Regions from separate parts of the Homo sapiens genome. Here region 2 is linked to region 1. The links are contacts of gene promoters, found by promoter capture Hi-C in blood cells and fetal thymus (Javierre and others, 2016). All regions are on one chromosome and are shown on one strand. The core of a region is centred on a gene start or on the middle of the fragment in contact, and the rest is flanking DNA. Distances in the headings are between cores, read along the strand shown. Region 1 holds the start of MARCHF3 (membrane associated ring-CH-type finger 3). Region 2 overlaps LOC124901056 (a long non-coding RNA gene).

Evidence for each region. Contacts are between HindIII fragments. The CHiCAGO score rates a contact against its expected background, and 5 or more counts as called.
Region 2: a contact is called between a fragment that was not itself captured here and the fragment with the promoter of MARCHF3 in region 1, in 1 of 17 cell types (non-activated CD4 T cells). The highest score is 5.7, in non-activated CD4 T cells.

The regions. Positions count from the first base shown.
Region 1 is chr5:127,029,294-127,032,809 of GRCh38, forward strand. It overlaps MARCHF3 (membrane associated ring-CH-type finger 3), which reads right to left and starts at 1,265. Exons shown (of 5, transcript NM_178450.5): 1 at 1,057-1,265. LOC105379163 (a long non-coding RNA gene) reads left to right here and starts at 2,050. Exons shown (of 2, transcript XR_007058920.1): 1 at 2,050-3,516. RefSeq lists a silencer at 1,227-1,606 and an enhancer at 1,603-2,147. The HindIII fragment of the contact is 7,560 bases long and covers 1-3,516 here.
Region 2 is chr5:126,348,790-126,352,594 of GRCh38, forward strand. All of the region lies in intron 1 of LOC124901056 (a long non-coding RNA gene), which reads right to left. Among named protein-coding and RNA genes, the nearest start is that of GRAMD2B, 73 kb to the right of the region's middle. The HindIII fragment of the contact is 1,285 bases long and covers 1,042-2,326 here.

The DNA of each region.
Region 1 (3,516 bases), core at 15-2,514:
TATCTCAACATTTTCATGTATTTTCAAAGGTCTAAACATCCCCAAATTCTGGACCTGTTTCTGTCTAGTATTTTCAAAAGCTCTTATTCATGTCAAATAAGAATTGTAAGAAAATATCGTATTGAATTCTGTTTATTCCGCACATAATATAAACTACATGCATGTAGTTGGTCTCAGAAAAACAAGCTGCTTTTACCCCCTTACCATTAAGGGGGGAAAACAATCTAACCCAGACCGAGTCACAAACGGAGTGTCAGGTTTAACCTTGAGTTCTCTGCTGTCAATTCCTGACTCAACTTCATCACTTAAACACGCAGGTGCTCAAACAAACACCAACCGACCAGGCTGGCAATCCCTTTCGCAGCCTCTAGGATTCTCCAAGGCACTGGGCACCAGAACCGACAGCAGCTCCCGCCTGGTCCTAACGAAGTCCTTCGGACACCCCTTGCGGGTGGATGTGGAGGTCCGAGCACCTCAGGAGGGTCATGGATTCAAGTGCTAATAGAAAGCAATTACTTTAGAAAGTTCAAAGCCCAGCAGTGCTCTCAATTCCTCTCAGTAGCTGCAGAGCACTGAAGCCCCCGCTACAGAACCCGGCTGGTACTCCAGTTCTCTGGCGCTGAGACCCACCTTGAGCCCGATGAGCGCTCGCTCAGCCTTGAGATCCAGACGCGGACGCCGGGTCTTACCGTACCGCACAGCGCGGGTAATTTTTCAGGAACCGCGGTCCGCACGCCGCGGGCGCGGAGGCCGCCCCAGCGCTCCATGTCGTTGCCGCAGAGGGGCAGGGGACGCGTCCCGGCCCCACCTACCCATGTCAATTACGCCAAGTTGGTGCGGACTGGAACCGCGTCCCGGGCGGAGTTGGGATGCTTTGACAAGAAGAAGTTCGGGAGTGGGGATATTGGCACGGAGTAAATCCCGCCCAGCCCTGACCTCCCCACAGCGGTCACGCTCGGACGAACGGACCGCCGAGCGCCAGGACGCGTCCCGTCCCCTCTCGCCGCCGCCGAACCGCGCCGAGAGGAGCCGCTAGCCCGGCGCGCGGCCACTCACCGTCCTCGCCGAGTCCCGATAGCAAACCGACGTCCCTGCTGCGGTTCTAAGTGCCAAGTTGCCCCCAGTCGGTGGCTGCTCACGGCCCAGTGGACCAGGGCACATTGGTTCCGGCGGGCACCTCAGGGGGAGTGCGGCAAGCCTGGCGGCCGCCGCGGCCACACAGTCGCCCACAGCGCGCTGACAATTCACGGACCTGCTCAACGAGTGAGGCGGAAAGCAGGGCTAAGCCGACCAGGCTCTGGAGGGGAGGCGGGGCTGCCGCTAGGGGCGGAGCCAGCCCCGGGGCGTCATCAGCCCATGACTGGCGGAGCCGACAGCCAGTCGTGGTGGCGCTGGGACCGCCCCGTAACCGCCGTCCAGTCGCCTGCGGCCGAGGGCAGGCTGGCGGGACGCGCCGGCGGCGGGGAAGTTGGTTATTGCGAAGTGCCGTGGCTGCCGGCGGGCGCTGCGGGACTCTCTGCAATGGGACCCGAGCAGCTCTAGAGGGAGGCGGCGGCCCCAGAAGGCCGTTGGCTGAGAGAGACCAGGAGCCCTCGGAGCCGCCGCGCGCATAGCGCTGTGGAGCAAGAAGCCAACCGCAGCGCGGGTCGACACGCCAGTATCTGGCACCGGCAGGAGGCGCGGAACTTAGCTGCCCCATCGGAACCCCGCCCGGAGGAAGCTGAGGGCCGAGAAAGGATGAATTCCGGACCGGGTCGCCCAGCCACAAGTGGAAACCTGGGCTCTCTGGAAAACGTTCTGATCTCGATCTGGCTATCTCTGAAACAAAACTCCAGCCCCGCAAACCTCCCAAAGTTCAGTACACGTCCCCGTCCTCACCCCTGCCCTCCGGGCCACCTGCAGCGGGGGACTTACCGGCGCCTCGGGTCTCCTCCTCCCGACCCAGCGCGTCGCGGACACAGCTGGCGGCCAACAGGAGGCTTGGGCGCTCGACGGCGCCGGAACCTGTGAGACCGTCGCTCTGGGCGGGCTGCCGTGCGGGGTGGCATCCTCTGCGGTGACTTCTGCTGTCTTTTGGGTCCGCCAGGATTCCAAAATCCCAGGCGGGTCGCTAGAATTATCCATCTTCGTGGACAGGAAGCCCCAGAACGAACCACATCTGTCCCACTCTGCTTCCGCCCTCCTTCCCCTTCGCAAGCTCCTGGCTGGGATGGAGACATCGGACGAGCTCGGAGATCCCGACCTCTCAGGGGTCACTCGCAGCCGAACAGCCTGGAATATGGCCTTGTGGGCCCTTCCCGCCCAACCCCCTAGGACCCCACTGCTCATCTTGTCAACCAGTTTCTGAGCCCCTACCCTGGCTGCAGCACGTGCTCGCACAGGCGCGCTGAGCTACTAACATAGAATCAAAAGCAGGGAGTTGGGTGTTCTTGCTTTCCCGCTGAAACCTAGAATGTAAACAAGCCCTAGACCGTCAGCTGTGGGTGGGTAGGGGCCTCTCCCTGCCTAGAACTGCTCTTGCCATGGGTAGGCACCTAACCCGTATTAGTAAGAATGAAGGAATGCATGCTCATAACAAGAAAGGGGTCAACCTGCTGCCCTGATACTCACCTTCACCACTTACGTCTTGCTTCCAGCGCAAGCCCACTTCAGACCATTGCCTCATTCAGGTCCCAGAAGTCCTAAGGGTTTTAGTCTCTCAGTATGGGCAATTATTCACATGTAAGGGAGCTGCAAGGTGTTATTTCAATGCCATCTGGCCTCTATAAGGTCTTGCATCATAGCTGACCTCTCATGAGAAGGTTCTGATGAGGTCACCAGGGAGAAGGAATGTAAAGGGCTGGTGGCTGAAAAGGAGTGAAATGGCCCCTCTTAGGTGAGCTCTGGCCTGGTTTGAGTTTCAATTCTGTCTCCTCAGCTCCATTTCTCAATGGGAAAAGGTCCATAGGAAGGTTGTCAGAAGGGCAGGAGACTAGGGCAGGGATAGCCCTTTGCAGACCCTGAAAAATTGCTCAGTAATGCAAACATTGTCCATATTTAAGTTCTTTCTTTTCTTTTCTTTTTTTTTTGAGGCAGAGTCTCACTCTGTCGCCCAGGCTGGAGTGCTATGGCTTGGCTCACTGCAAGCTCCGCCTCCTGGGTTCACGCCATTCTCCTGCCTCAGCCTCCCAAGTAGCTGGGACTACAGGCGCCCGCCACTACGCCCGGCTAATTTTTCGTATTTTCAGTAGAGACGGGGTTTCACCGTGTTAATCAGGATGGTCTCGATCTCCTGACCTTGTGATCCGCCCGCCTCGGCCTCCCAAAGTGCTGGGATTAGAGGCGTGAGCCACTGCGCCCAGCCTTAAGTTCTTTATTTTCTATCTTGTGGACCAAAGGACTGCTACAGGCAAGGAAGACCATCTGACTCAATTCCAGAGGTTCCTTAGCATGCTGCTGACTGGCCTAGGAGAATGGCCTTTGCCCATAAAGTATTAGATGTAGACCACATGAATGGAATATTCACCAGGTTTCTGC
Region 2 (3,805 bases), core at 434-2,933, 680 kb before region 1:
CTATTGGCTGTTTCAAGGCCACGAACATATAACATTTAAATGTGAATTTTGGCAAATATGAAATATTAATTTTTTTTACCAGTCTATATGACTTCCATTTTCCCACCCCCTTCTAAGAAATATACAATTTTCCTGCTGAAAACTTTTCTCCAAGTGATACCTCGTGACATAATCCTAGATGGTATTTCCGGGGAAAATAAAGAACATGTCTAGATAACATTGGCTTCAGTGATAGCAATGTTTAGCTTTCACTTTCCTCTTAAGTTTTCTTGGAAACAATGCCTTATACTGGTAGCTTTTTCTGGCTTAGTGGAGCATGAGGATTCTTTTTTCAATCAAATGCAGTCCTATAGCACTGCAGTGTTGATGGTGTTTTGCTTTGCTGTTTGTTGTTTTTGTTCTGTTGCTGATTGCCACTGATCTGTTGGATGTTTGACCCCTTATTGGTTTATTTGGAGACTGAAACCCAATAAAATCCAAATCAACACTACAATACAGTGGATGCAGAAAAAAAAAAAGTTGCCAGCCTAACAATGCTTTCCTTAACAAACCACTAGAGATACCCAGTCTCATATTTCACTTGAAAGTCAATGAGAAGAACCATTTGTTCTGTATTGTCCTACTCCTTAATGAGCTTAACAAAGAAGTAGAGAAGTGCTCAAATCAGCGTACAGCTCAATAAACTTTCACAAAGCAAGCCTACCAAAGCAACCAGTGCTCAGACCATAATCAGCACACAAAAGCCCCATTTGTGCTCACTCCTCAAGATACCCCCCACCCAAAACAACCTCTATCCTGCTTTAACTAGAGATTAGTTTTGCCTGTTTTGAGCTTTACATAAATGGACTCGTTCAGTGTGTACTTTCATGTCGATTTATTTTCCATACATTATATGTGTGAGATCCATCTTTGTTTTTGCATGTGTCAATGATTTGTGCATTGTCATGGCTATATAGAATTTTTGTTTCAAGAGCATCTAAGCAAACAAGTATTCTGAGGAAAACGCTTTGAGATACATGGATCCCAGTGTTAGAATATAAAAGCTTTAATCAAAAGAGCAAAAAGTAAATAAGACCACCTCTGGAAACAGCCTGAAGTCAATTGTTAAGAAGCAGCTGTTTCAGGAGAGAAGTAGAATGGTAAAAAGCTCTATGGATATGTTAATTTGCCTGATTTGATCATTCTACAATGAATAAGTGTATCAAAACATCACATTGTCCCCCATGAATATGTACAATTATTATTTATCAAAAATACAACTAAAGAGAGCTCTCAGATAAATCAGAAAGGCCATCTTAGAAATACCCAGAACTGAGTCAGGGATCTTGGCTTAAAGGGAAATAAGACAGCCTTCCAAAAAGGTTTTGATTTAGGCTGTCTTTGTTCTCATCTCTTCAGCAAAACCTCTTTTTTGCCTCTCCAGTTCCGACTTTAGAGCCCTAACTGTTCTGAAGCCAATACCCCACTTAGGGATCAAGTTTTGCCACAGCTTTCCACACATTGTATATACATGACCTAACCATTCCTCATGGGAAAGAATATTAGCATTCTGTTGCTACCTCTTTAAAACACAATATCTTGGCTGGGCGCAGTGGCTCACGCCTGTAATCCCAGCACTTTGGGAGGCCGAGGCGGGCGGATCACGAGGTCAGGAGATCGAGACCATCCTGGCTAACACAGTGAAACCTGTCTCTACTAAAAATACAAAAAATTAGCTGGGCATGGTGGTGGGCACCTGTAGTCCCAGCTACTCGGGAGGCTGAGGCAGGAGAATGGCGTGAACCCAGGAGGCAGAGCTTGCAGTGAGCCGAGATCGTGCCACTGCACTCCAGCCTGGGTGACAGAGTGAGACTCTTTCAAAAAAAAAAAAAAATGATTTCTTGTATTATTATCAAAAGCTCTCCAGATTGAGGGTAACATCCCAAATATGCAGGGAATACCTTAAGGACAAAATTGTAAGTTTGATACTTTGTAAGTTTGATACTTCAGTGCTGCCACTTTATGAAACTTTCTAAGTTACTATTGTTACTAGCTAACTGATATTTAAGGCACTAACATTTTTACCAATATTTCATAATACTAGCACTGAAGAGAAGTTTTTATTCTGTTATGAAGATGTTAATTAAAGCAATTATCAAAATGGTCCCATAAACATTGAGACCATATTCTGAAAATATAATTACCCTTTATTGTTTTTCTCTTCCTTGAAAAAAAAAAGCCCAAATTCACAAAAAACTTTAGTTTCATAAAACTCATTTGAAGTACATTCAGTAGTTTTTTAAAAGATATTAGTTTCAGTGGCTCTGGAAAATATTCCAAGAATCTAAGCTTTTTCCTACATTCTTCTACTTACGTGAGATTAAGTCTATGATAGAGTTCAAGTGTCCTGGCTTTAAATATTTAACAGGAACAAGAGTAGAGGTGTTGGAATATTTACCAGGGTATTAGTAAGAGGAAGGAGTGGTTTGTCAGCACATGGTTATTTGAATTCTAGCTATAAATCCAAACCCAGATAAGAAGACACCAAAAGTTCATTTCATCAGCTACCAAGATACACTGAAAAATTTAAAGTGGTCATAAATTGTATTAGCTCCTCCCATCAAGAGATAGATTATTTCCCCACCATGTGAATCTAAGTTGGATGACTCATGACTGCTTGGACTGATAGAATAAGTCAGAAGTGATGTTATGTGACTTTTGAGCTTGAGCTTCAAGAAGCTTGCAATTTTGCTCTTGCCTTCTGGACTTGAGGCCTTCGTGTAAGAAAAGTGAGAGAGGCCACTGCAGGGAGAGACCAGGCGGAACACACTCTGAAGGCCCCAACAAACCTGTCTTAGTCCATTTGTGCTGCTATCACAGAATACCCAGACTGAGTATCAAGAACAGAAGTGTCTCAGTTCTGGAGGCTGGGAAGACAAAGATCAAGGGGCCAGCATCTGATGAGGGCTGCTCACTGCTTCCAAGATGGTGCTTTGGATAGTGCATCCCCAGAGAGGAGAAATGCTGTGTCCTCCCTTAGCAGAAGGACAAAGAGCAAGTCTACTCCCACAAGCTCTTCCTATAACAGCATTAATTCATCAGGGCTCAGCCAAACACATCCCAAAAGCCCCACCTCCCAGCACTGTTGCACTGGGGGTTAAGTTTCTAACACATGAATTTTGGGGGACACATTCAGACCATAGGACAACCTCCTGATAACAGTTAATTATTTGAATATACCCCCGGAAACAGCAGCAACATAACTGCCTAATTGAGCCCTGCTCAACTTCGTGAACAAATTGCCAATTTAAGCCACTACATTTGGGAGAGGTTTGTTATACAGCAAGAGATAACTGAGACCGAGCCCATTTCATTGGCTACCAAACACACCAAGTCAGTAAGGGAAATGTACTAGCATAGTTGGGGTTTTACTATCAGGTCTCCACCTTCAAATTTCTACAGCACTGCTCTGCCTAGTTTGGTCACAATTTATTTCCAATCAAGACAACTGTAGTTGACTCCTGGTTATCTGTTCCTGCCCCTATTTACTTCCCACATCAATCTAACGTCCACGTTATTCAAGTGGCTAGGATCCTAATTAACATTCTCCCTGCCGTCACTCTTCCGCTCAAGCCGTGGATAAAACCCTGTCCGTGGGATAAAACCCTGGGCCCAGTATTCATAACCTTCATAATGAGGCTTTGCCTGACTTACGAGAGGTAGAGGAGTATTTAACCATTGACCCCCAGACCCCACAGATCAAGGGTTATTCCCCTGACCTCTGGGCATGTGCCATGGCCTAGAAAGTTCCTTACAGCACCAAAAA